Linked DNA regions of Homo sapiens: all the other regions are linked to region 4. Evidence: promoter capture Hi-C in human tissues and cell types (Jung and others, 2019). All regions are on one chromosome and are shown on one strand. Each heading gives the region's core, a stretch centred on a gene start or on the middle of the fragment in contact. The rest is flanking DNA. Distances are from core to core; before and after follow the strand shown.

Evidence for each region. Contacts are between HindIII fragments. The study calls those that stand out against the background at their distance.
Region 1: a contact is called between a fragment that was not itself captured here and the fragment with the promoter of OPCML in region 4, in 1 of the 25 tissues and cell types used here (dorsolateral prefrontal cortex).
Region 2: a contact is called between a fragment that was not itself captured here and the fragment with the promoter of OPCML in region 4, in 1 of the 25 tissues and cell types used here (dorsolateral prefrontal cortex).
Region 3: a fragment that was not itself captured here is called in contact with the fragment with the promoter of OPCML in region 4 in 2 of the 25 tissues and cell types used here (H1 embryonic stem cells and dorsolateral prefrontal cortex).

The regions. Positions count from the first base shown.
Region 1 is chr11:133,085,866-133,092,938 of GRCh38, forward strand. All of the region lies in intron 1 of OPCML (opioid binding protein/cell adhesion molecule like), which reads right to left. Among named protein-coding and RNA genes, the nearest start is that of OPCML-IT1, 280 kb to the right of the region's middle. The HindIII fragment of the contact is 5,557 bases long and covers 2,392-7,073 here.
Region 2 is chr11:133,813,631-133,821,220 of GRCh38, forward strand. No RefSeq gene overlaps it. Among named protein-coding and RNA genes, the nearest start is that of LINC02743, 7.0 kb to the left of the region's middle. The HindIII fragment of the contact is 5,580 bases long and covers 1-4,592 here.
Region 3 is chr11:133,146,555-133,153,707 of GRCh38, forward strand. All of the region lies in intron 1 of OPCML (opioid binding protein/cell adhesion molecule like), which reads right to left. Among named protein-coding and RNA genes, the nearest start is that of OPCML-IT1, 220 kb to the right of the region's middle. The HindIII fragment of the contact is 7,946 bases long and covers 1-6,352 here.
Region 4 is chr11:133,529,588-133,536,547 of GRCh38, forward strand. It overlaps OPCML (opioid binding protein/cell adhesion molecule like), which reads right to left and starts at 2,914. Exons shown (of 8, transcript NM_001012393.5): 1 at 2,677-2,914. The coding sequence starts at 2,737. The HindIII fragment of the contact is 11,580 bases long and covers 1-6,960 here.

The DNA.
Region 1 (7,073 bases), core at 3,920-6,419, 440 kb before region 4:
CATGCGTATGTTAAATCTGCAGTAGCCAAGTCATCTCTGGAAGCTAGTTGAATTGTTTAATTAACCTGTCGGTTCATCTAATATCTAACTCGGCTCCTTCCTGCTGCAGTTGAAATCCTTCTTTGCTTTATTCCATCCTCAGAGAAAATAGAGGACAGTTAATGATCCCTCTCTGTGCATTTCAGAAGATGGTGTAAAACAGTGCTAGAGAAAGCCTTTTAATCATATATTTCAAATATGCAGATCCAAAGGTGATAATTCAAGCACAGCTTTAAGATTTTTCAAATACCTTATTCCATCTGCCTTGCTCTGATGGTTTCTATGAACACATTTTCATTTTCTAAATCTGGAATTAGTAGAATCTGCTTGAAAAGGGATATTACAGTCAAGTGATGTTCTCAATTTGAGGTGTAATTATTTTCCCCCATTTTAAAAGCCTAACATAAAATGTGATGTGATTTTTTTTTCAACTTTGCAAGGGACATCAACTTTTTTATGTCTTCAATTTTTTTCTCTGAGCTTCCTACAACTTGGAGAATAATATAAATAAGAAAGGAAATGCAGATAAGTTCAATTTCTAGTTTGCAATAAAAAGTCAATGTATTGTCTGATAAATGTCCTCCTCTTTACCCCATCTTCTTCCTGTAGATGAAAATTCTGCTTAAATAAATGAAATAGTTGGCAGATAAAGATTGAATATATTCAAGGTGTACAACGTGATGATTTGATGTAATGCATGGTGTAATGCATGGTGTAATGACTGCACAATCAAATTAAGGAACACATTCATCACCACCCGTGCTGTACCTTAGGTCCCCAGAAGCTGCTCATATTGGAACTGAAAGTTTGTACCCTTTGACCAGTATCTCCCCATCCCCCTACACTCGCAGCCACTGGTAACCACTGTTCTACTCTGCTTTTATGAATTTGACTTTTTAAGATTCTACATATAAGTAAGATCGTGCGGTACTTGTGTTTCTGTGTCTGGCTTATTTTGCTTAGCATATTCTCCAGGTTCATTCATGTTGTCTCAAGTGGCAAGATTTCCTTCCTTGTTATGAGCTTATTCTCAAATCAAAATTCTTCTGGATGCTACATTAACCCTTAGAACCTAAGTATACACTTGAGCCTGCCTGAGATGAGATTGCACTTAGAGTCAAACATCAAACATCTTAGCACTGAGAGGAGCATTTGAGATCATCGAGTTCAAACCTATAATTTAACAGACGACGAACTTAAGACCCAAAGAGGTTAAGTGACTGAATGAAGGTCACGCTGCTGGTTAGTGAGAGCTGAGGCTAGGACTGAATTGCTGCTTAGGCTCTTTCAACATTATCGTTATATTTACCAACATTTTCCAAGTTGATTTTTTTAAATAGCAGTTTTGAAGAAGATGTTAATAAGCATTTTCTTTCATTGTATAATTTTAAGTATTATTTTAGGTGTAGGGGCTACCTGCCTAGGTTTGTTAGATGGGTATACTGTGCGATGCTGAGGTTTGGAGCACAAATGACCCAGTCACCAGGTAGTGAGCCTAGAACCTAATAGGGGGTTCTTCAGCCTTTGCCCTTCCCTCCATCCCCCTTCTAGAAGTCCCCAGGGTCTACTGTTCCCATCTTTATGTCCATGTAGACTCAATGAATAAGCATTTTGAATGAAAAGAAAAATATGTGCTGGACCAAGTAAACTTATAAAACATCAATTTAACCTGCTCTGCTTCACAGAGTTTAACATATTAATTTTCTGTCGCAACCCGAGAGAGATATTTAGCCAACACGTATGACTACAGACTATTTTTAAGTTAACATTTAGGAGCATCTATTAATATATCTAACATGCCAGCGTGCCAGAGAACAGTATTTGGAAGATGCTGCTCTTGACTAGAACCCTGTAGAGGTATGATCGAGCTTGACAGCAAATGCTGATGCTTACAGGCTCTTTCCCGCACTGGCTAGCTGAGCAGTCATAGGATCACACTACCCAAACTTCAAAGCCCTCATCTGTAAAACGGGCACTCAGCTCTCTTACTAGACGGTTAGGAGATGGTATAGCAGAGTAAAATGTGTGAACTGTAATTATCAAATTGTATTTGTGACAGCTTGCCAAAGTATCCACTGTGTAGCACGATAAAATAAATATATGAGAAAAAGTGTGTAATAAGAAGGTAAGGGTGAGAAATAAAATACAACTGCATAGAAGTACATATCAAAATCCATGTGAAAAGTCTTATATTAATGTTGACAGTGGATGGCACATTTGACTTTGCATTATTAACAAAAGAGAAAGAGTACTATTACTTACTGTAGGCAGGTAGTACACAAAATAACCATGAACCTTTTACATGGGAGAACCACGGCTTTGCTAAGTACTGAGACAGAAAACTTCATGGTTTTCCATTGACTCTTAAAAGCACGGATTGCGAAGTCACGTAGTTTCACCTTTGCCTCTAACTTAGTTAATTTAGCAAATTACATCATTTCCATAAGCCACCATTAACTCTTTCATACAAGGGGCAAGATCCAAGTGACCATGAGTGCTGTGCCCATGATGTGGGATAGTGAATGCCATTCCCTTCAAAACAGCAAGCTCACACTCAGTGACAGTCCCAGTGGACACTGCCCTCGCCAATATCTTCCAATATCAAAGAGAAATTTTGTCATCTGTTTCTTTTGCCATTGGCTTCCAATGAATTGGGTTACAATACCAAAGGGGATTGCAATAAAAATCACTTGATATCAAGCTAAAACATGCGGTGGTTTCAGTTTAATTCAAATAGTGGATTAATTATATAACATGGATAAATAACTTTCTGCAACAAGACTTTAAATGAGAGTGGAACAATAGAATTATACAAGATATGCTTCTGACAAACCCCTGGAACGCAGGTCATTCATGTTACCAACCCAGAATGGTCTAAATGTTTTGGTTACCATCTGAGAGGGGGGCAGGTTTGGCAGTGCTTCTAAAACGGGGAGAATAAGTAATCATGTCCCCATATTCTAACACATTAAGCATGACTACTATAATTTCATCCCAGAAAAATTCCAAAGCAAGTGATATCAATCATCTATCAGAGCAATGAAAATATCTCCAAAAGTTCCCATAGGATGGCTAATAGTAAGTAATGTAGTTTCTAGATGAACCCGCTGATATACACTGATTGCCAAATGTATCACAATGTGATGGAGTGATTTGACCCATAATATAGAATCGTTGGATCTAAGCCAATTAAATTTTGAAGGGCAAGTGCCAAAAAGGAGCAGCTGATCTTGAGCCAGTCTTTCTGATAATAGTAAGTGAGCAGAACCAATTGCCTGTTCAGATCATAGCTACTATGTGACAAGTAGAGATATACAGATAGTATCTGGAAATATGACAAAAAAACAGGCATACATTATGCCAAAAGAAGATTCTAAGGAGAATGTGAGTAATGAATACACTTTAACAACAGCACTATCATCTTCCAGATTATTTTCTTTGAAGAGAATTTTACTTACCTAGATAAATGTTATTTTTGTAAGTAAAATTACAAGTATTTATTCTGTGTTTCTTATTAATTGTAAACCACTTTAGGGCTAAGCATTAATTGTATTAACTAATGAATTAACTTACTCGTTTGGAGATATTTGCTGAGCATCTACCAGGCAATAGCAACATACTCTGTGCTAAAGGCAAAACAAAAGGCTTCTGACAAGGTCCCCACTCTCTAAGGGCACATAATTTAGTTGTTCTGGGAGTCACACAGCTGAATTCATTAAGAAATAAGAAAGAATATGATTAAGTCCCTGATAAATGGTACAGGCAGTAACTACGTACTGAAGTACAGAAAAATGGGATACATTTGGAACTGAAACTATCAGAGAAGGATTTGTTGAGAAGGGGGGACTTCAACCAACCCCTAAAAAAAAAAACCCAGTGGCTTATGTTTGATAGAGACATTGGGGAAGGAAATTGAAGCAGAGGAATTACACTCAAAATCTGCTGTCAATGATTTAATAAACAGATGCTTATTGAGCACATGCCACGTACTTTGGCACTGTTCTAGGTGTTGGGAATAAAATGGTGAGCAAAAGTTAACAGGTTCTCTCCTAATGGAGCTTACTTCATAGTGGGAGATACACTAAATATCAAAAATGTACACAGGTAAATTCACAAGGACTGTCTCCTTGATGAAACTTTAGTCTCCTCTGAATCCTCTTCTCTACTAGGCCTTGTCGTTGGCTCGGTTTTAGCCAAGAATCCTGCTGAGCCCATTTATGGAGCATCCTCTCCGCCCTTACTACTTAGACATGCTTCTCCTCCTAGATACCTAATCACATTCTTAGTAATTCTCCATCCACTCCCTTACCTCGCCTGCCAACTCAAAATCTCTGCTTGTCTCTGTTATATTTGGGGTGCTGCTGCAACACATACCTAAAATGGGGACATGGCTTTGGAACTGGGTAATGGGCAGAGGCTGGAAGAGTTTGAGATGCATGCTAGGAAAAAACCCTAGATGGGTATGAACAGAGCATTGAGACTGATTATGATGAGGGCACAGAAGAAAAGAGCTTTACAGACAGCCTAAATCTTCTTAGACATTATCAAAGTGGTCATGAACAGAATATTGGTAGAAATATAGATGGCAAAGGCCATTCTGATGAGGTCTTAGGTGGAGACGAGAAATAATGTATTAGAAACAGGAAGAAAGGCCATCATTGTTACCAAGTGGCAAAGCACCTGGCTGAGTTGTGTTCATATCCTAGTGCTCTGTGGAAAGCAGAGTTTAAGAGTGATGAACTAGGAAATTTGGCAAAAGAAACCTCCAAGCAAATGTTCAGGGTGCTGCACAGCTTCTCCTGACAGCTTATATGAAAATATGAGAAGAAAGAAATGAAGTGAAGACAGAATTTATAATTAAAGAGAAAGCAGAACTTAAAGATTGGGAAAATTTTCAGCCTGGCTAGATTGTGAAGAACAGAAAAGTGTGTTTGAGAGAGAATACCCAGAGTATGGCCAACCTACCATTTGATAAGGATCAGTATGGTTAGAAAGAAGCTAGATGCTATTCATCAAGTCAATGAAACAATGACCCAGAGGGCATTTCAGAGATTATCAGTGATGCCATTTCCTAGAGTGCTAAGGCCTTGAGGGTAGAATAGTTTCAAAGGAGAAGCCCAGGGCACCTGTGGGACCTCAAACCTGAAGACCCAGGGATGACTAACATCTCTGTTTCTCACATTCTGCTGCAATGTTCCTTGGCTTCCCCAGCTGTGGCTCAAGTGGACCCAGGTGCAGCTTGGGCCACCACTTGATAGGGCACAAGTGGTCAGCTTTGGTGGTGTCCACATTGTGCTAATTCTGCAGGTGTGTAGAGTTCACGAGCTGTGAGGGCATGGATGCTTTTACCTAGATTTCAAAAGATGCCTCAGAGAGCCTCAGGGCCCAGGCAGAAAACTTCCACAGAGCCAGGGCCATCACAGAGCATCCTCACTAGAGCCACGTGTAGTGGAGCTGTGGGAATGAGTCTCCCCCATACCACAGAACTGTACAGCCACCAGAGTGCAACGCCAGCCTGGGAAAGTCACAGTCACGCACCTCTTCAATAATGCAAACTGAAGTGTGGGCTATCCCCAGCAAAGCCGTGGAGGTGAGGCTTCCTGAGGCCATGGGGGCCCAACCCCTGAACCAGTGTGTCCAGGAGGTGAGACATAGGGTCAAAGAAGATTACTCACAAACTTGAAGATTTAATGTCGTTTGCCCTAGAGTTTTGGATTCTCTTGGGACCTACTACCCTTTATTTCCCCCTATTTCTTCCTTTTAGAATGGGGATGACTATCTTATGACCCTCCCACCATGGTATTTCAAAAGCATATAATTTGTTTCATTTCACAGGCTGACAGCTGGAGGGAAATTTCTCACAGGATGACTTGTACCTTGAGTCTCACCTATATCTGATTTAAACGATATTTAGATGAGACTTTAGATTTTAGAATTTTGAGTTGATGCTGAAATGCATTAAGACTTTTGGGGCTATTGAGATGGAATGAATATATTTTTCATGTGAGGACATGAATTTGGAGGCGTAGGGGTGGAATTTTATAGTCTGAATATCTTCCAAAATTCGTGTGCAGAAACTTAATTTCCAATGTGATAGCTGTAAGAGGTGGGGCATTTGAAAGGTGATTAGGTCATGAGGGTGCAGCCCTCATGAATGAGATTAGCAACCTCATGAAAAAGCTTGAGGGGGTGAATTTACTTCTTACATTTCTTTAACCATGTGAAGACACAGCATCCATCCCTCTGGAGGAGGCAACGGGGCACTACATTGGAAGCAGAGAACAGCCTTCCCCAGACACCAACCTCTCGGCACCTTGTTACTGGACTTTGCAGCCTCCAGAATTGTGAGAAATAAATGTCTGTTGTTTATAAATTACCCGGTCTGTGGCATTTTGTTACAGCAGCACAGACCAAGGCAACTGATGAAAAGAGCTGGGCATCTAATACAAGGTCAACAAAGTGGAGCCCTTCCCTGAAACTTTCAGACTGAGAACCACAAAGAATGAGGGTCAATCACAGAATAAAACTCAAGAGCTGGCTGGGTGTGGTGGCTCATGCCTGTAATCCCAGTACTTTGGGAGGGAAGCTGAGGCGGGCAGATCATGAGGTCAGGAGTTTGAGACCAGCCTGGCCAATATGGTGAAACCCCTGTCTCTACTAAAAATACAAAAATTAGCTGGGCATGGTGGCGCGCACCTGTAGTCCCAGCTACTCAGGAGGCTGAGGCAGAAGAATCACTTGAACCCGGGAGGCGGAGGTTGCAGTGAGCCGAGATCACCCCACTGCACTCCAGCCTGAACAACAGAGTGAGACTGTCTCAAAACAAACAAACAAAAACAAAACTCAAGAGCTGTTAATTATCTTGTTCTTTCTCTGTGAGAAGGTTGGTACATCTTTATGAGATAAAGGAGCAAATGGTGGAAAGAGAAAGGAGAGAGACAGAGAAAGAGAGAGAGAGAGAGAGGATTTCTGGCAACAGCATTTAGTTCCTAGTGCCAGTTATCCCTGAGACCCAGCTGCACCCATTCTCATCC
Region 2 (7,590 bases), core at 553-3,052, 280 kb after region 4:
GAGAAAAGAAAACGTTTGTACACTACTGGTGGGAATGCAAATTAGTTCCGCCCCTGTGGAAAGCAGTTTGGAGATTTCTCAAAGAACTAAACATAGAATTACCCTTTTACCCAGCAATCACATTACTGGGTATATACCCCCCGAAAAAAATTAAGCATTCTACCAAAAAGACACATGCACTCATATGTTCCTCACAATACTGTTCACAACAGCAAAGACAAGGAATCAACCTAAGCACCCATCAGTGGTGGATTGGATAAAGAAAATGTGGTACACATACACCATGGAATACTATGCAGCCATAACAAAGAATGAAATCATGTCCTTTGCAGCAACATGGATGCAGCTGGAGGCCGTTGTCTTAAGCAAATTAATGCAGAAACAGAAAACCAAATACCACATGTTCTCACTTGTAAGTGGGAGCTAGACACTGGGGACTCATGGACATAAAGATGGAAACAGTAGACAGTAGGAGCTACTAGAGGAGGGGGAAGGGAGAAAGGCAACGGTTGAAAAACTCCCTCTTGGGTGCTATGCTCAGTACCTGGGCGAACGGTTCTGTTGTACCCTAAACATCAGCATCACATAATATACCCTTGTAACAAACCTGCACATGTACCCCCAAATCTATAATATAAAAGAAACCTGATTTTTTTCGGATTACTAAAGCAATATAAGCAATATACATTCTCAGCAAAAAGGAAAAATTAAATACCAATTACCTATACTCTCCTCCAGCTCCTGAGATAACCCTTGTTTATATGTTGGTGTCTACTCTACATTTCTTATATATCTATATAATAATTATGGTCACAAGTTCAAAATCATAATGTACAATCTATTTGTAACCTCTTTCCACCCAAAATATCATGATCACTCTTCTTTGTTGCTTGTGTCTCAATCAACACTTATTTATGATAAATGAAACTCACTAAAACTAGATTCGGCCAGAGGGAATCCATCAGATGACTCAGGAACCTCACAGAACCCAAGAAACGACAGCTGGGACACAGGCTAGCACTGGGACGCCTCCCTGACACCCCAGGGCATGGCGTCCTCTCACTCTATCTGCTCAGCAGTGCCATCTCTGCAGCCCAGGCCCCTGCTTCTGTGTGTAGCAGCAGGCAGCGGCTGCATAGCCCACCAGATCCACTGGGCTTATCTCATCCTAAATGCAAAACACCAGCCTGCTAAACTCCCAATTCCAAATGCCCAAGGTCCGTAATCCGGCTGGCTTGGTTTGTCATCTCTACATCCTTGAAGTAATCAGCCATGGCTGGCGGGAGTGGGAGAGGCAGGGAATTGGTGTGCCAGGCCATTAGAGAAGTGGACTCACTTACAAATGTTATTTACTATTCCTTCAAAGGATATGCCAGGAAAACAGCTTGTATTAGTCAGGGTAGACTAACTGCTATTTACAGAAACCCCAAAGGCTTATTTCTTGCTCGTATCCCAGTCTACTGTGGACCAGTAGGGATGATTAGGAGCAGGTGTGGGGGTCAGGAGGGTCTGGGCTCCTTCCATCCCTGGCTCCCCTATCTTGTAGGGTCTTAGAGTCCTCTAGTGGACCTTTTGAACTCAAAAACTTAATCATGTCTGATCCATTTGCTTCCAGGCAGCTCCATTTGCAAAGCAAACACTCTCAAGATTCTTTCCTAGACATAATTCTAAGATGTGCTTGATTTCGTTGTCTCCTCCCTTACCTCCCACCTCTCTTGTTCTCAGCGGCTGTCTTGAGACTATGTGGAACAGTAGGCTTGAATGGGACAGCTGCATCCCAGTCTAACCTTCTGCTACAGGATTAAATCACTTTCTTCAATCGAAACATGTTATTGGGTCTCTGTCTCAATGCTTCTCAATCCCATCCCTTACTGTTAAGGAAGCAGCCAGCTTTTCCAACCCCTCTGGGGCAGACTGGATTTTCCCAAAACGGGCCATGGCCATAACAATCTTGCCAACGCCACGTGTTCTCCCAGAGCCTTGACACTCAGCCCACCATGAGGTGGAGCGTGATTCCCCTTGCTCTGCATATGGGCTGACCTTAGTGACTTGGTAATAACAACTGACATCAGGCAGAGGTGACACCACCTGACTGCCGAGACCAGGTGGTAAAGTGATAGAACTTCTGCCTGGCAACCCAGCCACCACGCTGTGAGGAAATTCAAATGAACCCACATGGGGAGACCAAAGGGAGAAGTCTATGTGGACAGGCACTGAGTCTCCAGGCAACAGCCAGAATCAGCTGCCAAACACACGAGTGAACCAGCCTTCTGATAATTCCAGTCACCAGCTTCAAGTCTTCCAGCAGAGCCCCAAACATTGTGCAGCGGGGACAAGATGTCCCTGCTGTGTCCTGCTGGAATTTCTGATGCACAGATGCCAGGAGTGTAAGAAATGGCTTATGCACTAAGTTTTAGGGTAATTTGTTACACAGCAATAATAGTTGGAACATGTTTGAGGCACCACACTTTTGCATTCTTCTTACTCCCTTTTTATATTACTTTTAAATCAGCTCATTATTTCCTAACTTCCTTCTTCTTGTGATACTTTGCCAAAGGCAGACAATAGAAGCCCACCACACATAAATATACACACACTGCTAATGTTCTATTTTCTAAACACTTCCCCTAGTGCTAAAATCTCAGGCACATGGTCTCCCTTCCAGATCATCACTGTGAAGTTCTACCAAACACTTTGCCACAACAACACAGGGCTTGACAGCCTTCCAGCCTCCTGGATGTGTCTCCTCACCACCCACAGCCTGACTATTAAGCCAATATCCCATGTTTTAGGCATTTCTATTATGGAAGCACCCACTTCTGGCATCAATATCTATATTATTCTGGGGAGACTAACTCCGGTAGCTAAGAATCCCATCATTCAATGGCTTAACACTATAGAGTCTTGTGGTCATTCATATTGTGATCCCACACGTGTGGGAGGGTCACAGCTCCCACACAGATGTCTTCTGTCTGGCTGATTCTCCATCACCAGCGCTCAGCAGCCTCCCCTGGGTCTTGTGCATCCTGCCAGTGTGGAGGATCACATGGTCAGTGCCTGGAAGTAGCACGCCTTACCTCAACCCACATTTCACTGGCCGCAACTCAGTCCTGTGGCCCCACACAACTATAAGGAAGGCTTATGTCAGCTGTGCCCCTGGGAAGAAGAAATGAGTTTATGAGCATCTAGCCATCACACTTCCACACTGCCCAAAGCAAGGCTGAAAGTCCAGTCACAGTAATATCACGCTATGTCTCTTCCCTAACTGTCCCCGTCCCAGAGTCCCTGCTCTGTGGGAGCCAGGCCTTCCCAGCAGCTCATTCCTAGGGTCTTGCTCAGGCTTGTCTAGATACTACTACAGTGGTATGCAGAATAGTGTACCAGCAGAGACAGCCACGTGCAAACCCCCAGACTCTGTGCATAGGTCACCTAGCATGGCAAAAGGGACTTTGAAGCTGTAAGTAAGGTTAAGCACTTTGAGTTATCCTGGGCTGTCCAGATGGGCTCTGTCTAATGACATGAGTCCTTAAAAGCAGAGAAACCCTTCCCGGCTGTGGTCACAAAGGAAGATGTGGTCAGAGAGATGCAAGGTTGCCAGCTTTGAAGACAGAAGAAGTGGGCCATGAGCTGAAGAACTCCAGAAGCTGGAAAGGGCAAGTGAATGCAGAAAGTGAATCCAGAGTGGAACACAGCCCTGCTGACACCTTGACCTTAGCTCAGCTGGACTTCCAACCTACAAAACTGTCTGATGATAGGTTTGTGTTTTAAGACCTCAGTTTGTGATCATTTGTCATGGCGGCAATAGAAAACTAATACAGCCAATGACTGCTCTTGGCGATAAATTCTGAGCCCCACACTTCAACAACAGAGAGCCCAGGGCCCCAGTAGGAATATACCTCATGTTCACAAACTAGCTTCTGCCAGACTGTGGCTGCCTTCTCCACACCCACGGCTCCACCCCTGTTCTCCTTACTCCCCTGCACCCAAAGCCCTGAGACTCAGGCCACCAGCCCTAAGGAGGCACTCTGGGCCACCCAGTCAGCACATGCTTGTCTCAGAGCCCTTCCCTGCTAAGCTTGGCCTCCGGCAGAGCAGCAAGACCGGAGGCCAGCCAGGGACAGCGTGTGCTCTGCCCAGAGGCCCTAAACCCAGAGTCGGCAGACCCAGCTGCACAAAGACAGAGGGATACACTGGTGTGTCCTACACGTGACCATGGGAGACACGGCTCTGGGCAGTGCTGGTCAAAATATGACAATGTGGCCACCATTCTCCCTACCACCCTCAACAACTCCCCTCAAGAAAGGGGTTGGAAATGATTCCCCCAGCAGATATGATGGGTGATAGCACAGCACGCCATACACCCTCCCTCACACGCCCAGGAAAGATGGGCTCTGTACGAGAACTTGCAGTTTAAGCCAAAACAAATAAATAAATGACGTGTGGAATTTTAGGCATGAGGTGAAAGGAGGATTATTTATCTTGGGGTCTTCCCAGAATGCCTTCAATAACCAATATGTTACCTGCCCATATGCAAGTGGAGTCTAGACCAGCCATGAAAATAGGCACAGTCCTTGGGGAAGGAGAGCCAGGCAGAAGGAAAGCAAGATAAGAACTGAAGACACAGGGAAAACTGCACAGTGGAGCTGGAGAACCAAAGCTAACCCTGTAGGTCAGAGACGGCTCAGGAACTGGGTAGTTCTCAGGCTAACGCAGGGGAAATGAAATCTGTGGGGTTAAACGTGTGCTCGAAAGTCTATGGGTGGGAAGAGAGCAGAGTGCAGCGGGAGGCGACATGGTGGATGAATCTGCACGGGGCAAGGCCCCTGTTTCACAGGACTCTGGTATGCAGTTAGGTTGCAGTTTCTGCCACCAGAGTAGGCCAGGAGCCACACACACAGCGCATCCAGCAGCCTACCCACCCGGGAGCCTCCGCTGCTCCTTCTGGAGTCACAAGCTCTGGCAGCCCCCACCTCTCCACTCCTGGTCCCTCCCAGATCCGTTCTCTTTGGAGGTTTTTCCCCAATTCCCAGGGCAACACCCCACCACCACCACCCACCGCCACCCAGCCATTCCACTGGATGGGACAGATGGTGGCCTGGGACCACAGAAGCTTCCCAACTCTGTAAAGTCTTGGGATGTCCTCCCAACAGCCCTCCAAGTCTTGGAGCAACCTCTCCAGATCTCTGGGGAATTCCTGACACAAGCCCATCGGGATTCCCTCTGATGAGCCATAAAAATTGATTAGCATAATTAGATCAGACATACTATGATATCATTATGATCTCCTCTGCTGTCTCGCCCTTCATTAATAAAACACACACTCAAAATGCAACTGTCTAGTCCCATCTCTGCTGGCCCTGAAAGTGGTCCTGTTGGAAGAGATGGAGAGACAGTAGGACTAGCTAGTGACTTCACCCTATCAGCATTCCCATTCCCTCATCCCTCCTCTTGCTGCACCTGTCTGCTCCAGCCTTGCTGGATGAGGGAGGAGCAGGCCTGCTGGGCACCAGGTCCCTGCAGGAGGAGAACTGCACAGTGAACCTGGAGAACCAAAGCTAACCCTGAGGATCAGAGACGGCTCAGGAAAAGACTTTCCCAAGGCCAAAGGTGCATCCAGCCTAGACGGCGTCAGAAGCCGAGTGGGTGTGGCAAGCTTGGCAGCACACGCAATCTAGAGACGGCAGCAACCGCAACGGTGAAGGAATATTCTGGGCTGACCCATAGACGGCGGTATCAGGGGAAGTGAGAACTGAAAGTGCCTTACACATCACTGGGGTCCCTCCATTTAACCAAAAATTATCAACAGGCCTTTGTTCCTCAAAGCCCCTTTTGGCTTCATCTCTATTCCAACTGTTCAATGGCCCAAATTTTGGAACTCTCTTCAAACATTCTACTGAGAAAGAAATCTCGTTATTTCATGAATAAACAGGCCGAGGCCACAAGACTCACAGGTGGGGTCGACAGAACCTGCTGCCAGGAGTCCAGTGTCCTCTCAGCTGCACACGCGCGTGACTGTCCAAGGAAACTGGTAGGAAAGAAGTGGAATAAAATGGATTGTTTTACAGCAAAAACCATCCTGTGCTTTCTTACCTACAGAGGTACCATTTCATGACCTCTGAGATGAGGGGTCAAGTTCAAAATATATCAACAGTGAAAAGACACAAGAAAAAGCAGAGAGGTTTTCTTTTGTGAGAATTGGTGTTATTAACAACGGCTCTAACAAGTAGAAGCAACGTTTACTGAGCACTTCCAGCATGCCCAGCCCCTGCCAAGTGTTCCTTCATGCGTGCTACTTGTTAATCCTCACAACAGCCCTGGGAGAGATGTACTGTTATTGCCCCATTTTCCAAGGAGGAAACTAAAGAACAGAAAGATAAACTGCCTTTCCCAGGCTGCCTAGTTGGTAGAGCATCGGGCTGGGACTCCAACAAGCCCTGAGGCCGCTAAGCCCATCTGTTTCACTGCAGCTCCAAAAGCCCAGGTGCTTGCCTTTAGCCTCAGTCTTGCAGGGAAGATCCAGACACCTCCAATCTAGTCTCCAGACAGGGATCTGCTGAATGCACCCTGAGTTTCCTGCATGGCATGGCCCTAGGCACTGAACACTTCAGCAAACAGAGCAGGCAAACTCTCTGCTGTCTTTGTGAAGCCCAGCAGTGCTGAGAGACAGACGATGAACTCAAAACTTAGAAAATCACACACTCTGTTGGAAGGTGGTGAGGATGAATGCTATGGGGGCAAGGGAAAGGGGAGACGAGAAATGCAGAGCAGTCTAATTTTAAATAGAGTGTTCAGGGAAGGCTCGCCTAGAAGCTGACATCAGAACAAAGGCTTGAAAAGGTTAGGGAGTGTGCACAGGGTGTAGAGCTTGTTCCCGGAAAAGTTCTCTCCTCCCAGGCCTGGAAGATCCATCCTCATTTCACAGAATCCCCAAATGAGAAAAGAGATACAAGCTACGTGATAGTGCCTGGCACATAGTAGGTATTCACCACATGCCCCTTTCCTTTCCTTCTAAGGGGGATGGGTTTTCCTTCTAGGAAGAATATTTGAAGCCAGTTCAGAAATGTAGGCACTGAAGAGCTGGAAGAGAGATAAAAGGGGCTTTGAGAACAAAGACCCATTGATAATTCTCAGTTAAGCAGAGGGACTCAGCCCCGTAACAAAGATCAAATTAAAGACACTTCCTTCTCTTCCATGACGGGATGAATGGTGTCCCCTAAGTAATCATATGCTAAAGTTCTCATCCCCAATAACCCGGAATGGGACCTTATTTGGAAATAGGGTCATCACAGATGTAGTTGTAAAGAGGTGGTCACACTGGAGCGGAATGGCCCCTATCCAATATGACTGGAGTCCTTATAAAAAGGAGAGATTTGGACAAAGAGGCAGACACACGAGGAGAATGTGGCATGAAGATGAACGAAGAGGCTGAGGTGACATAGAGAAGCCAAGGAACACCAAAGATGGCCAGCAAACCTCCAGAAGCTAGGAGACAGGCATGGAGCAGCGTCTCCCTCCAGGACCTTGGCCCTGGGCAGGAGCACCCCTGCTGGCACCTGGATCTTAGGCTTCCAGTCTCCAGAACTGAGAGAC
Region 3 (7,153 bases), core at 1,130-3,629, 380 kb before region 4:
TGCCCGCCTCGGCCTCCCAAAGTGCTGGGATTACAGGCATGAGCCAACGTGCCTGGCCATGCTAGGCTAATTTTTCTCTATTTTTAGTAGAGATGAGGTTTCACCATGTTGGCCAGGCTGGGTCTTGAACTCCTGACCTCAGGTGATCTGCCTGCCTCAGCCTCCCAAAGTGCTGGGATTACAGGCATGAACCACCACGCCGGGACCTCTATCTCCTATCCTCATCTGTCTCTTGCATAAGTAGGGAACTCCCCCCAGCACAGGCCCAGTAACATGACAGGGCTAGAGCCCATGTTCACTGTGGACAAGGGGAAAAAACACACACAGTTGAGATTACACTTCTAAAAAGAGCTGTCCAATTTATCAGCTATTCCCCTCCTGACCTTTGCTGAGTACTGAGAAGCCGTGGTGCCTTCCCCTGCAAGCTTCCCCTCTGCAGGAGACTCCAATGAATGAAGCATGCTTAAATAAATGTCTCCAAGGCAGCCCCATCAAATATTAAAAGAACAGAACTCCTTCAGTCAGCAACAGGGCACGGCACCCAATCCCTGAGTGTCAGGGGCTGCCGCCTCCTCTGATCACTTCAACTTTAAATAGCTCTTCAGGGGGGTGTTCCTATCACTAAGGCTGATAGGCAGTGCCACTTTCTACACGCAGGCTTTGTCTGCAGCATCTCTCACCAACACAGAGGAACAAGAAAACCTGCTGACCACTCAGAAGGGGAGAGGCAGGTAAAAGAAGACGAGGGAGGCAGTAGGTCATGGGAGATTTGAGGAGTTATCACTTTTGATAGTCTGGAGGCCAAAGTTGAGAAAGGAGAAAGCTAGGCCCAGCGTGCAGATCTGGCATCTGGGAGGTGCATCTTGAGCAGACAGGACACGGAGAAAGCCCTACCCGCTTCAAAACAGGAAGACTCTACCCTCTGAGCGAGAAAAAGGCCAATTTCGATGGTAAGCAGCAGTGACTTTGACCTTAGCAAGCATGTGTGGGTTTATAAAATGGGGATAAGAATGCTTACCTGGGATCGATGTTTTGGGAATTAAACCAGGTAATACACAGAAGGGATGGGTGGCTCTGCCTGATACTTCACAGGGGCTCAACAAAAGCCGATGTAACCCGCCCTGCTCCCCATCTCACCACATCCCCCTTTAAATCAGTCCCTACTGAGTGCCAGGCACCAGAGCAGACAGGTCCTGGTTGTACAAACTGCAAATGATAGAATCCCTGTCCTTGAGGAATTCACCGGTTCACACTGTTACTCATCACTTGTGCATACTCAGCTAGTTCATAACCTCTGTTACTTCATCTGCAAAGACGGAATGATGATGGCATTTAACTCAAAATTGCCCCGTTTACTGCCCGTCCTGCAGTTGTTACTCAGCGAACGCTTTCTTCCTCCTGCCCATCTCTCATCCCTCCCCACCCCAGCTGCCATCTGATGTTGGGAAGCCATGGTGATAAAGGTGAGAATGTCACCCTGGGGCCACCAGGCAGCCACACAGCCAGCTTTTCCACTGTCTGCCCCCAAATAGCTGCCTTTCAGGAGAAAATTAAGTGGATTTCTCAAAATGCTAAACTCCTATAGAATCCAGAGGTCTCATTTCCCTCCTCCCTTCAGAAGATCCACTGAGAGCTCCCATTTCCTCTACTGCTCCTCACGAGGTAGCCTCTCTCCTGTGGCCCAGGTACTGTGAGGTGAGGCTTGCCCACTGCCTTACTCTAACACTGACCAAGCTTGCTCCCTCATGCCATTGATCAGATAATTTGTACTGAGAGCTCACAGCCAGAGACGATAAACTTGGAGGGAACGTGCAATCCATGCAGACTCCCCTGTCGCCTCCAGATATCTGCTTCTTACTGCGTTGGTAAATGGAAATGATGGCTCCAACCTCTCTGAAACAAGAGGGAGGGAAGTATCGCTGGCTGTTGGTTTTCACAGCCCTGGGCACTGGTTTGGAATCTCTGTCCACTTTGCAGGAGACTGGCCTTCGGGTAGACAGAAGAGAGGAGTGGTGAAGAACTGAAACAGCCATGTGCACTTCATTGCTCGCTCCATCCCACCGCCCTGCAGGGGGCGAAGAACTGAAACATCCATGCGCACTTCAGCGCTCGCTCCATCCCACCGCCCTCCAGGGGAGGAGGGGAAGTGGTTCTGGTGTCCCAGCTCTACAAATGGCAGAGACGAGGTCCAGAGTTTCAGTGAGCTGTCCAGGATCAGAGAGACCCAACTCAGATTCTGACTCTGAGCACAGCATGTTTTCCACCCTGGCACTCAGGAAGCTGCCTTAGATGACAGCTGAAAAAGGGAAGGAAGGAAGGCTTAGAGTGATGGACTGGGCAGGCAGCATCCACCATACTTCAGGATTTAGGGTCCTGATTAACCAAGCAGGCTGATGCATTCAGTCTTGAGAAGGAGAGAGGGGTTAAGGTAGAGGAGGAGAGTGGAGAAAAAGTTCCCTCACCCACTGCCAGCCGTTCTTCCCCTCCTTCCTTGAACACCACACTTCACCTGCTCTCTGAACTGGGAAAAGCAACAGACCCAGACAGCCACCTCAATTCTACTTAGCAGCTTAAAAATCTAAATTGATGGCTGTCCTCTTCATCTCTGAAGGTCTGTTATTTAGGTTTTGTGGTTTGTTCGTCCTAACTTTGTTACGCACCATGATACTTGCAAATGGGGCAACATAAATTAAGAACTGGTAACGGACGACATTTGGAGCAGGTCCTACGGGAGATTCAGATGAATCCTGATTTGTGGATATGAGGAAATCTTCCAATTTGACATTGTAGTATATCACCCATATATTTCCCCCTGCAAATGTTCTTTCCTACTGTTTTTAGCCTGCCTCTTTAAGCCAGTAAAAGGAGAGGCCCCAGGCAACTGCTAGGCTTCCCACTTAAAGTAAAACGAAGTTAATTTACTTGCAAAGAAGACATACAATTTACATCTCCTCTTTTCCATCCCTTCTACCATTTAGTGTGTCCCTGATAAGTCGGTTGCCACCTCCAAATTCTCTCAACCCCCACCCGCACGCTTGATGTTGCCAGAGACAGAAGAAATATCAGTTTTTGACTTGATAATCGGCTGTGGAAACTTTGTCCAATTAGTTATTAGAGCATGTGCAGTTGAGGATGGTGCTGCTGGCTCACTGAAGCTGCTGCTGTTTTGTCATGTGGTGTCTGGCTGACCGTTAGGCCACCCTGGGCACATCCCATCAGCTCAGTAATCCTTCATTCTCAACAGCAGACATCCAATTTGGATCCAAAGCCTGACCATTCACAGGAGGATCGTCTGGGGAGATAAAAGTAGAGCCTGCTTTGGGAGCAGGGAGGTGGTTATGCCAGAGTTGAGTCACTATCACTCTTCAAGAGGCCGGAGCACTTGTACTCAGCACTGGGGAGGGGAAGCGTCTGGTGCTTGTGTTCTCCCAGAACTCCGTCCCTGCCTACAGAGGGCTCCAGCCAGCATCCCTTGATTAACACTGCCCACCTCCACTCACTCCTTTCTCTCTGGGCCAGGCCCAGGCCACAGCAGTTTTCTTTTGTTATCTCATTTAAACCTTAAATAGTGGTCTTGGGAAACATGTTTTCTGTGTCTTTATTCTCCACAAATGAGGAATCACAGCCTCCAGATATATCAGGTGCCCATTTAGGGCATGCTAGTAATAATCACAAAGTCTAATGTGTATCGAGCCCTTACTCCATGTCAGGGACTGCGCTAAACCCTTTGCATGGATGGTCTCACCCTTTCCTCCAACAGCCCTGAGGGCTTCTGTCATCGTCTTCATTTTGCAGATGAAGAATCTGAGGTTCCAGAGGTTATGAAATTTGCCTGAGTTGATGCAGGTGCGAAATGGTGCAGCTGGGGTTTCAACCCAGGACTCTGAACCCTCTGTTTTCAGTTGCCACCTCTGTAAAAATTAGAGCTGCAGGAATTTGAGCCCATGGCTGTTGTTTTCGGAATCCATGCACCGTATGCTGCCTTACAGTGTCCTCTAAAACCTGAAGCCACTTGATGCCTTGGCCCCTTACTGTCCTGATAGCTTCCTGACTGTGGGATGCAGGCTGCCTCATGGCACTATAAGACCCCACTCCACCCCAGCACCCACTGTGCAGTGTCGGCAAAGGTGCCCTGGCATCTTACAAAATCTTCCTCCTCTCTCTTTTCTTTCCCCAGGAAAGAAACCTGCAGGAATCTCTCTAATGGACCTTGTAGACCTGGTCATAAAAATGAGTGTGCCTTCCAGCTCCGACACTGCAGAAGTGGTCAGCTTGTGTGGGATGGCCACAGGGCTGAGCAAATGGGTGCATGTGCAGACCCAAAGGGCAGCTGAGAAGGACTGAGAGCTCCTCAGGAAGCCACATCCTCCCCTGCCCCGGAACCCTTCTAGAAAGAGAGTGGCCTCCAAAGCTATTTCAGAGACATTAATAATTCGTCGGCCAGGTGCGGTGGCTCATGCCTGTAATCCCAGCACTTTGGGAGGCTGAGGTGAGCGGATCACAAGGTCAGGAGTTCGAGACCAGCCTGACCAACGTGGTGAAACCCGGTCTCTGCTAAAAATACAAAAATTAGCTGGGCGTGGTGGTGCACGCCTGTTATCCCAGCTACTCAGGAGGCTGAGGCAGGAGAATCACTTGAACCCGGGAGGCGGAAGTTGCAGTGAGCTGAGATTATGCCACTGCACTCCAGCCTGGGCAACAGAGCGAGACTCTGTCTCAATAATAATAATAATAATAATTCATGAACCCCAGGGGAAAAAGAAAAAAACTTTAAAAGAGGAAAACAAGGATCTAATGGGCCTCAGAGGCTCCCACACAATTGGCAATGGCTGGTTTGCCCTTTGGCTGCTGGAGATGCAGGAAGATGGGGGAGGAAGGAAGGAGGAAAAAGAGAATGTATTTTTTTTTCAAAAAAGAAGCACACTTTTAAAAGCTAGAAGAGCCTGTATCAATATGACCTTGTCCAGAATTTATAAAAGAGCTTTGGTATATAAATTTGATCCCTGAAAATTATTGGATGAGGAAAGTGCAGTTATGATTAATCTAATTTTTCAGTTAAGGAGAAATACATCTTCACTAGTTTGGGGTTTGCTGGCAGCCCAAGCCCTGACCCTCCACAGCTCTGTCCCAGAGGCTATTCTTCACCCTGTGGACACTGCTCCTGGTTCCCACCTGTGTTCTATCACGGGATCAGTTAGGGCTTCTCGAGAGAAGAGCAGGAGATGGAGGTGGGAATCTTGGTCTAGAGTTCTCTAGATTTCAGCAAAAATCTCAACTGAGATCCCCAAGGCTGAAAAAAGACCCCAGGCCCTCAGAAACCATTATCCTTCCATTCAAGACACCTGGGACTCCTCAGAGTGCCTTGGCAGGATCCCCCAGGAAGAGAATGCTTCTAGCTCTTGACCTTCCAGAGGGTTTTGGTGATTTTTGTATGAAGAACAATGACATCTTTTTTGTTCACAGTTGTTGAGGAACAGAAACAGAGATTTAGTTTATAATCTGATGACTAGTTGTCCCTTTTATCCCCCATGTATTGTTTCTACCTTGGAGTTCAGGTGTCAGAAACTGTCTGATCTTATTTTTAACCTCCTTCAGAATCCAAACCGCTGAACAAAAAAAGAGGAATGATTTAAAAAGAGGGTCAGATACCCCTTCCAATCTCCTTCCTTACCTCCCCACTCCCACTCTGATTCCCCTACCACTCAGCTCCCCGAAGAAAGCGGAAAAGAGTGTTTGCCTTCTATTTTGTGATGCTTATCAACAGTAGGCAAAACTCCATTGTTATCTGGAGCTGTGTGGCATTGTTTCATGTGAGTGCCCACTTCGTTATTTAAGAACTCGGAGTTTCCTTTAAAGGTTGCTTCATCAAAACATGCCATTAGTTAGAGACTTCTGCATCCACATCGACCGGGAAGAATGTCTAATTGCCGGCCTCTTTCATACCTCTTGCAATGCCCACCCTCCCTAATCCTCTCCACTCCCACCTTGGACCCAAGGTAACCCCTTCCCTCCTGATCCCCCCCCAACCTCCACAGACTGGTCTGTTTTGACTCTTTTCCTGGTGCAGAGACATTTCTTCAGTAATCTGGGAGTGTTCACGTGCTAATGCAGGTAAATTGTAATTAATTTCTCTCTAATTGATGCGTGGGACTACCTAGGCCCCTCATTTTCCTCCCTTCATTCCTTTATAAATATATGATTTGACAGGTTAATTTGAAAGCAAAAGTTAGATTCTTTACAGCCATCTAAGCCGAAGCCCCAGCACGCAATTTGCTGTCTAGTTGTGTGAAGCATAATAAAAGGGTTGAAGTCAGGTTATCCTTTTTTTTTTTTTATCATCATTTTGCTAATTTAATCTTTTTCCCCTTCATAAGGTAATAAAATATTCATTTCACAGCCTGAAAGCCTTGGCAGCGATTGGCGAGGGAGCAGTCTCCACAGCGGGCTGTGTGTTCCACGGGGTGACCTTCTCCCTGGGGTCCCTGCAGCCTGGACCCTGGAAGGGGCACCGCGAGGGTCTTGTGGGCGGCTCTGGAGGAGTTTCGCTTTGGCATCTGGATCAGGACTGAGTCAAGCCTCCCACATTCTGCAGCAGCTCAGAGAAAAGCGCTAGAAATTACTGGAGCTGTGGGAGAGACGGGAGCCTGCCCCGCAGCCAGATACCCAGAGGCGTTCTCGGAAGATGGGGGAGGTGGAAGTCCGTTTCCTGTCAGCTCCGGCATGAACCACGGGGAGGGCTTATGGCTGGATGAAACCAGCGCAGGAGTCACAGAGAGGCTGCTCCACAGGAGAGCGAGTCCTCCAGAGGACAAGGCGAGAACCCAGCTGCTCAAATGGTAGGCTCAGGCATCGCTCAGCTATTTGCGTCCACACGGAAGGAGCACTGCAGTGGTCCACGGGAGGACGGCTCTCAGAGCTCAGGTTGCCTTGGAACCCATCTTAGCTTCTTGCTGGTTTGCTACAAAGCTCTCTGCACCCGGGCCTGCTCACTCGAGAGCTGGCCTTTCTGACACTAGCCAACCTACTGGAAATATCCAAGACTCTAAGTGGCTCAGCTCTTCTTCCCTGAGAGTTGGGGTAACAGCAGAGGGGCTTATGTCTGATGGGAGCATCTCTGGCCTCCACACCAGGCACCTTTTTCCCTGGGCCTCCA
Region 4 (6,960 bases), core at 1,664-4,163:
CATTAACCTTAAAATTACTCTGGGATGGATACATGTTTTACCAAGAAATAGAAGCTGCAGAATAAAATGGCATTGAGGCCTAACCAGGTCAAGGTTCCATTATTACATCAGCCTTTGGTTTTTAGACGCAGTGAAAGTAAGTGGCTAACGAGCTGGTATTAATCCCTGTGGGAGAAAAAGCATCATCATTTGAAACAAAGAAAAAAAAGTCTAAAGCTATAACAGGAAGTAAAAGAAAAGAGAAAGGAGAAGTCGCAAGTAAGCCATGGCAGCTCATCAGAACTTCCGGATCCAGCCAGGTTTCCCACAGGAACCCCTCAAGATGCGAAGCGTTCTTTCACCGACACCTTCTAAGGCTAACTTTTTCTCCTCCCCGTTCTTGTTCTTACCGGGCTCCTGACACAATTAGCATAAGAGTAGCCCTCAAAGCAGGTAACAGACTCTTCAGAAAGAGGGCATGTTGCAGTGATGTCCACACCCTGCTCTCCCCCAGAAGATGGGGGCAGGGGGGTGGGGGGGATAGCTTGTCATTGTCGTTCATCCACCATGCTCAGGACGGTCAGGCAGGGGTGCAGGTTCATCCTCCTTTCCCTCAGCCGGCTTTAGTTTCGGGTACTTCTCCTGCAAGCAAGTTCTGCCTGCTCCCCACCAGTGCAGTGCCACGGGACCCCTAGAAGGAGGTCTCACCCTGGCTCCTGGCTCCTTCAGGGCGCGCTGCAATGCAGCTTCTGCAGACTGGGGCTCACCCCCCGCCTTGCTTTCTAAAGTGTAATGTTATGATTTCTGCCATAAGGGGCGCATCCATACAGCCAGGATTCCCTTGGGATGGGGGTCCTGATCTTTGCTCCAGCACAGTGAGAGGAGGGGAAGCGGGTATGAGGAGGCCCCCCGGAGCTGCCATCCAGCTGGGGACTTGCCTACGCAGGAAAGTTTGTCTTCTCCTGCCACGGACCCAGTGCACCCACCTAGCTCCCTCTACCAGGCTCAGGCAGGTACTGAGTGTTCCGTTGGCTCTGCCTTCCCTGCTGAGCACAGCCCCCAGGCTGGACCCCCTAGGATGCTGCTGGAATCTGGAATAACAACAACAGCAACCCCCACTCTGAACTTCTTGGTCAGCCTAAAACAAACAGCTGGGAACATGGTTATGCAGAGCCCATCCCTGCTTTAAAAAGTGCCATCTTCACAAGGTGTTACAAAACATTACAGGCTGGATTACTTGTTTTAGTTGATCCTCTCTTCTTTCTCCCCAGTAAACTTCCATTTTTCTGATTTCACTTTGGCATCTTAGGACTACTCAGGGAATTATATTATTAAAAACAACACTGAAAATATTCCCACAAAACCCTACCAAGTAATACTGAATATAGAAACATAAAACTGTATGTTTTACCTATAAAAAGGCAGGTAAGGTTTTAAAATCTTAGCATTCCTGTCTGTGTATATATGTATGAAAATTTAGGTTTAAGCTAATGTTTAACACAATGCATTTATCTCAATTTGGGGGAAAAAAAGAGATCCTGACTGTGCGACGGTTTGGTATGAAAACCGACACTTTTGCTGCTGCCTAAAACCTTGGCAAGCATAACCTAGCCCCTTCGGCATTGTTTGAAAGATGCCTGCAGGCATTCAGTTGTCTGCTTGCAAAGGACTCCTGTGCAATTATCAAATCTATTAAGATGCCTTCAATTTTGCAACGCTTCTGCTAAGCTCATTTTGGTAGGATTGCAGCATCTTACCTGTGTCACTGCAGATTTGTTTTCCCCAAACAAATAACTGCTGTGAGAGGTGGGATCACATTTAAATCATTAGACAAGGTGGGGAAGGGGCTGGGGAGAATCAGGCAAATCCAAATTTCCAACCTTCCCTCAGCAGGGACATCCCAAATTCTGCCAAGGGAAATTCATATTCCTGACGTAAGGAACAGGAAGGAGATACTGAGAGGATTCCGAATTTCAAGGGCATAATCTGCCCATTTGGTGGAAGGATAAAGAAAGGACGGCAGGCAGTAGAGGGCCTGTGTTACAACAAGAAATGCAGGAGCAGATGAGTGAGCTGAGAAGGAGGGATGGGGCAGGGAAGGAGCTCCAGGGGGAGAGGGTAGGGGAGAGCAGTTCCGAAGGAAGGGAGGGAGGAGGAGAGTGGGGAGAGGTGGAGAGGGAGAGAGAGAGAGAGAGAGAGAGAGAGAAAAGAAACAGAGAGAGAGACAGGGAGGCGCAGAGATCTGGACTGATTCAGAAACAGAGAGAGACCACCACGACTGAGAGAGATAAGAGGGTGCCCCTTCCACCCTGCAGGTCCCAACATAGGCAGCAAGAAGGATTTATGGCTGGGAGTTCAAACCCCTCTTCTCCTACCCCCAGGACCACAGCTGGTTAATGCCAGTTGGTGACTTTCACTGAAACAGCAGTGCCTCACAGCATGGTGCAGATCTCGAACCCAGCTCACTGGATCCCCCGGAACAGAGAGCAAATCCCGTGCTGAAAGCATCTGCGCGCGTGTGAGCGAGTGAGTGTGTGTGTGCGTGCACACAGCAAGCCTACCTCTTTCACTCACATGCATCTCACACTCCCTGTCCTCACCCCTTCCTCCTTGCCTCTCCATCTCCCCACTGCCTCTCCTGCTCTCACGTCGTACAATCACCCCAGGGAGAGAAAACACCCTTCCCCTGTACGGTACCTGGGATGAAGAGCAGGGCAGTTGTCGCCGAGAAGACGACCCAGTAGGCAGGATGGTACATCTCGACGCTGCGGTGCTCTCAGCTGCCGGGCTTGCTACTGCTTCTGCTGCTGCTACCGCTGCTGCCTTCCTCTGTGCTGAATTCTGAGCAGGTTTAAATCCAATGTTTGCAAAGGGAGGGAGAGAGCAGAAGAGAGAGAGAGCGCGCGAGAGATGGGAGCAGGCAGGCAGCGTCTCTGATTTCTTTTCTTGCACACAACTGGTAAGAATCATCAGCACCAATCTGCACAGGGCTCAGAGCAGTCCTCCAAGGCACGCATTGGCTCCACTCTCCTGAGCGACGGAAGGAGACTTTCCTGCTTGGAAGGCTTGACTCCAAGGGGAGTCGAAGCCGGCCCCTCACTCACCCCCTCACCGGAGCACAGCCCTGCGTGTTGCTATCTGTGTGAGTATGTTGATGTGGGGCTCACGTGGACACGTGAACACACACGAGCTCCTTGGTGGGCAGTGGAGAGGGCCTGGCACTGCCAGCAGGGCTCAGGGCACACCAAGAAAGAAAGGTTGCTTGGCAGAAATGTGACTAATGCCCATGCCAGTTCCTTATCATTCTTCCTTCTTCCTAGTCTCCAGGCAGGGATGGAGCAGGAACTGCTACCCACGGGGAGAGCTCAGACATTTAAATCTGCACCCTACCCCTCCATTCGGCCATTAACAGCATTTGGAAGCAGTTGGTTTTCCCAGTAAGGAGATGGGCATGTTACGGTTTTAAACCAATGATGCAGGGAGAATTGGCCAGTTCCCCACAATCAGAGCATTCTGAAACTCTACCAAGGCAAGATGCTATAGAAGCTCAAACAATTGCTATGATTACAGCATAGGCAGGGACAGATTCAGATTAGATCTCAAGGAGGCGGAAACTTGCTGAAGTCATCGGAAATCTTCACAAGGAGAAGGCCACAGAAGGATACCTGTGGCTTCCTTCTGTTTTTTTTTTTTCTGCTTCTCCTTTTCAGGGTCCAGTCTGTCCCTTCCTCTGGAATGGCAGTTTACACCGGCAGTTTACACAGGATGGCAGTATCTCTGGGTGTAAGAAACCTCAGAACTTTCCCCTGCTCTAAAACGGCCTGCTTGCCCTCCCTAACACGTGCTTGTAAGCAGCACACCTTGCTGGCTGAGTGGTGCTGCCACTGAACTATACCCTGAACTTGGAGGGTCTGTGATCAAAATAGCACCAAGTATTAGAGAAGGGACTCAGCAGACGATTTCTGTCCCAGGTGCTCTCCGAAGACCTCAAGTGGCTTGGATTCCTTCCCAGCTCCACGTGTCCACACCTTGAGGTCTGTGAGGGACACTCCACAGGAGGTCTTTCTCCCTTCCTCCTTTGCTGCAATTCCCAAAGTTTTCCCAAGTGACCTACTATGGGCAGGTATTCACCTCTATCACTTTAGTTAATCCTCACCAGCGTCCTTCCTTGTAGGCATTATGACCCCTGAATTTTCAACTGAGGTTGACAGCGATTCAGTGACTTGCCACACAGCTAATGAGTTAAGATAAAAACCCAGGTCTGTCCTGCAAAATCCACACAGTTTTTATAAAGCAGCCAATTGCCAACAAGTTCTTTGGGCCTGACTGAGCGCCTCTCTTTCTATAAAATAAATCATGTTTACTTTTAAAGAAGTAAAACAATTGATTACTCCCCTCCTTATGAACAAGTCAGAAAACTTCAGCAGTAAAAGAGAAAACAGATGATGATTGTATCATCCGCTGACACTTATGAAGTACCTACTTAACATAGTCATTTTTTCAGGGATGAGAATATGAAGAATATGATTTGTTCTCGTCTATAAAGGGCATACAATATAAGTCAGGAGATCAGCCAAAAGTTAGCATTGTGACTTTGCGAATGTACATAAAAATAATAGGACACGTACACACTGTTAGAGTCAAATTTTGTAGACCTCATCACTGCAAACATGTCGTTCACAAGCAAATTGATATGTGAATCCTTCAGGCAATGCTGGAATCCTGCAGAAATCCAGAATTATTACCAGTGGCTGAATACGCTGGAGAATACAACTGGCTTGAAATTGTGGGAGAGACCAGATAGGCCACAGAAATGAGATAGACATCTCATGGAGGGGAAGAGAGCAGACACAGGTAGAAACCCTGCAGGGGGGAGTTAGGGGAGGAGATGGGAGACCAAGAGAGAAAGACCTTGAGTCCTAGACCAGTGATTTAGAAATTTCCCCCTGCTGGGAAAAACAGTTAATTTCTTTTTGAGCAGGGGAGCGCTGTGAATGAGAGGGAGTTAATTTATGGAAATTAATCTGGGTGAAGTGTACAGGAGGGATTGTGGCAAGCACACTTGTTAGTAGGCATGGCCCAAGTTTGATAGATCCTGGAACTGGTGGTAGCAGTAGAAGAGGAAAAGAAGGGGGTTGTATGTGGAACGCAGAAGAGTTAGGAGGACGTAGTGACTGATGGCATTCTACGGATAATAGACATCATGTATTCACCCTCTGCAGGCTAGATTTTTTTTAAAAATATTATCACATTCAATTCCTAGCCGTTACTCTATGAAGGTGTAATTATGCCTTTTTGAGAGATGAAGAAACCGAGACTTAGAAAGGTTAGGTAATTTATCCGAGGTCACACAGCTAGTTAGTGACAGCCAAAATTTAATCCTGGGTTTTTCTGTTTCCAAATAAGCGACTCCCTAGAAGAAATTATCATATTGGGCACCATCATTTTATTGAATATTCACATGCCAATCACTCAGGTATTGCCCTTATAAATCCCTATTTATTTATCACCCACACAGACTAGAGGGAGAGACTGGAGCTCAAAGAGCTTTAATAACATCCCCAACATTGCAGAGCTGCCCGGGTGTGGAGCCCCGGTTCAAGGCCTGCCTTCACCACTGGTGCTCTTAACCACCAGGAGGAGAGAGAAGGAGCAGCACTGGCAGCCTAGGAGGGGACCGAGTCCCAGCGCTGCCTGTGCAGTAGCACCTGAGGACATGGAAGTGCATTCCATGCAGCCCCAACCCCACTCCAGGAAAGAGGGGCACACACTACTAGTCGGTAGCTAGTGGCCAGACAGGAGCAAACTTTCATTAAACTGTCTTGGGCCAATCACAATCCTAGGAACTTCATAAATTTTCTCTGTATTGCTAGCCCATTTCAAAGATAAATAAATAGAACAAGTTACAGAGAGTCTCGAGTCCCTCCTCTAAGACTAATAAGTGGCAAGGAAATTGAGGTCTTTCTTACTCCAGAGTTTACATTCTTTCACCTTTCCCTGTCAACTATATTTTTGTTTTAAAAACACCCATTTATTCTGCCAACATTTTTCCTAGTCCACACACATGCACACACATGAGCATACACACACACACATACCCCAAGTCTTTTAATTAAATTCACATTTAACACACTTCTATGTATAGCAGGAAAAAATTTTTAAAATTTGTATACCTAATATGATCTTCCTTAAGGAAACACATAAATATGTATTTTCACTGATCAATTCTTTTAGGTCTATTATATGATTAAAACATATGTCTCTTTTATTTAAAAAAAGTAGAGGAAGAAATGTATAAATGCATATTTAATCAATAGATGGCACCAACTCTGTAAAGAGATATTACGGTCTACTGGGTCTATTTAAACATCTTTAAAAAATACAAATACAAATAAAAATGCTTCAATGCATATTTACTAGGGGGACTGCTCTCTTCTCTGGGGTAAATAATATGCAATTTTATACCTTCTGTGAATCTTTATTTTCTTCTTCCAAAGCAAACAAAATCATCAAAACTGTATTTAAATAGCAACAATGTGGGGGAACAAACCAACCAACACCAGGCAGTTGTGCAAGGAGACTTGACTGTCACACTTGCACTTCTGACTAGGATTCTTTCTTCTGGAACAGCGGTGTTGGGCTGACATCTTCAAAGGCAGCGGCCAGCTTCCTAGGGCCAGATGGGGAATGGGAATGTTGGATCAGGGGTGAGGTCCCCCTGGGTCCAAGGTGTGCTCCTGCCTGATGCCAGTCCTGCTCCTTCACACCAGCTGTATGACCTTGGGCAAGGATACAGGGACTTCCTCTGACTCATATTGTTTCTTTGTTATACAGAGAACTGCACTGATGAAGAGATTACCTTGTGGTATTTTATGTATCCATTCATTCATGCAATAAATATTTCTTAGATACCTACTCTGGGCCAGGTACAAACCTACTACATGTGATGCAAAGAGATACAATGTAAAGCAAGACAAGACT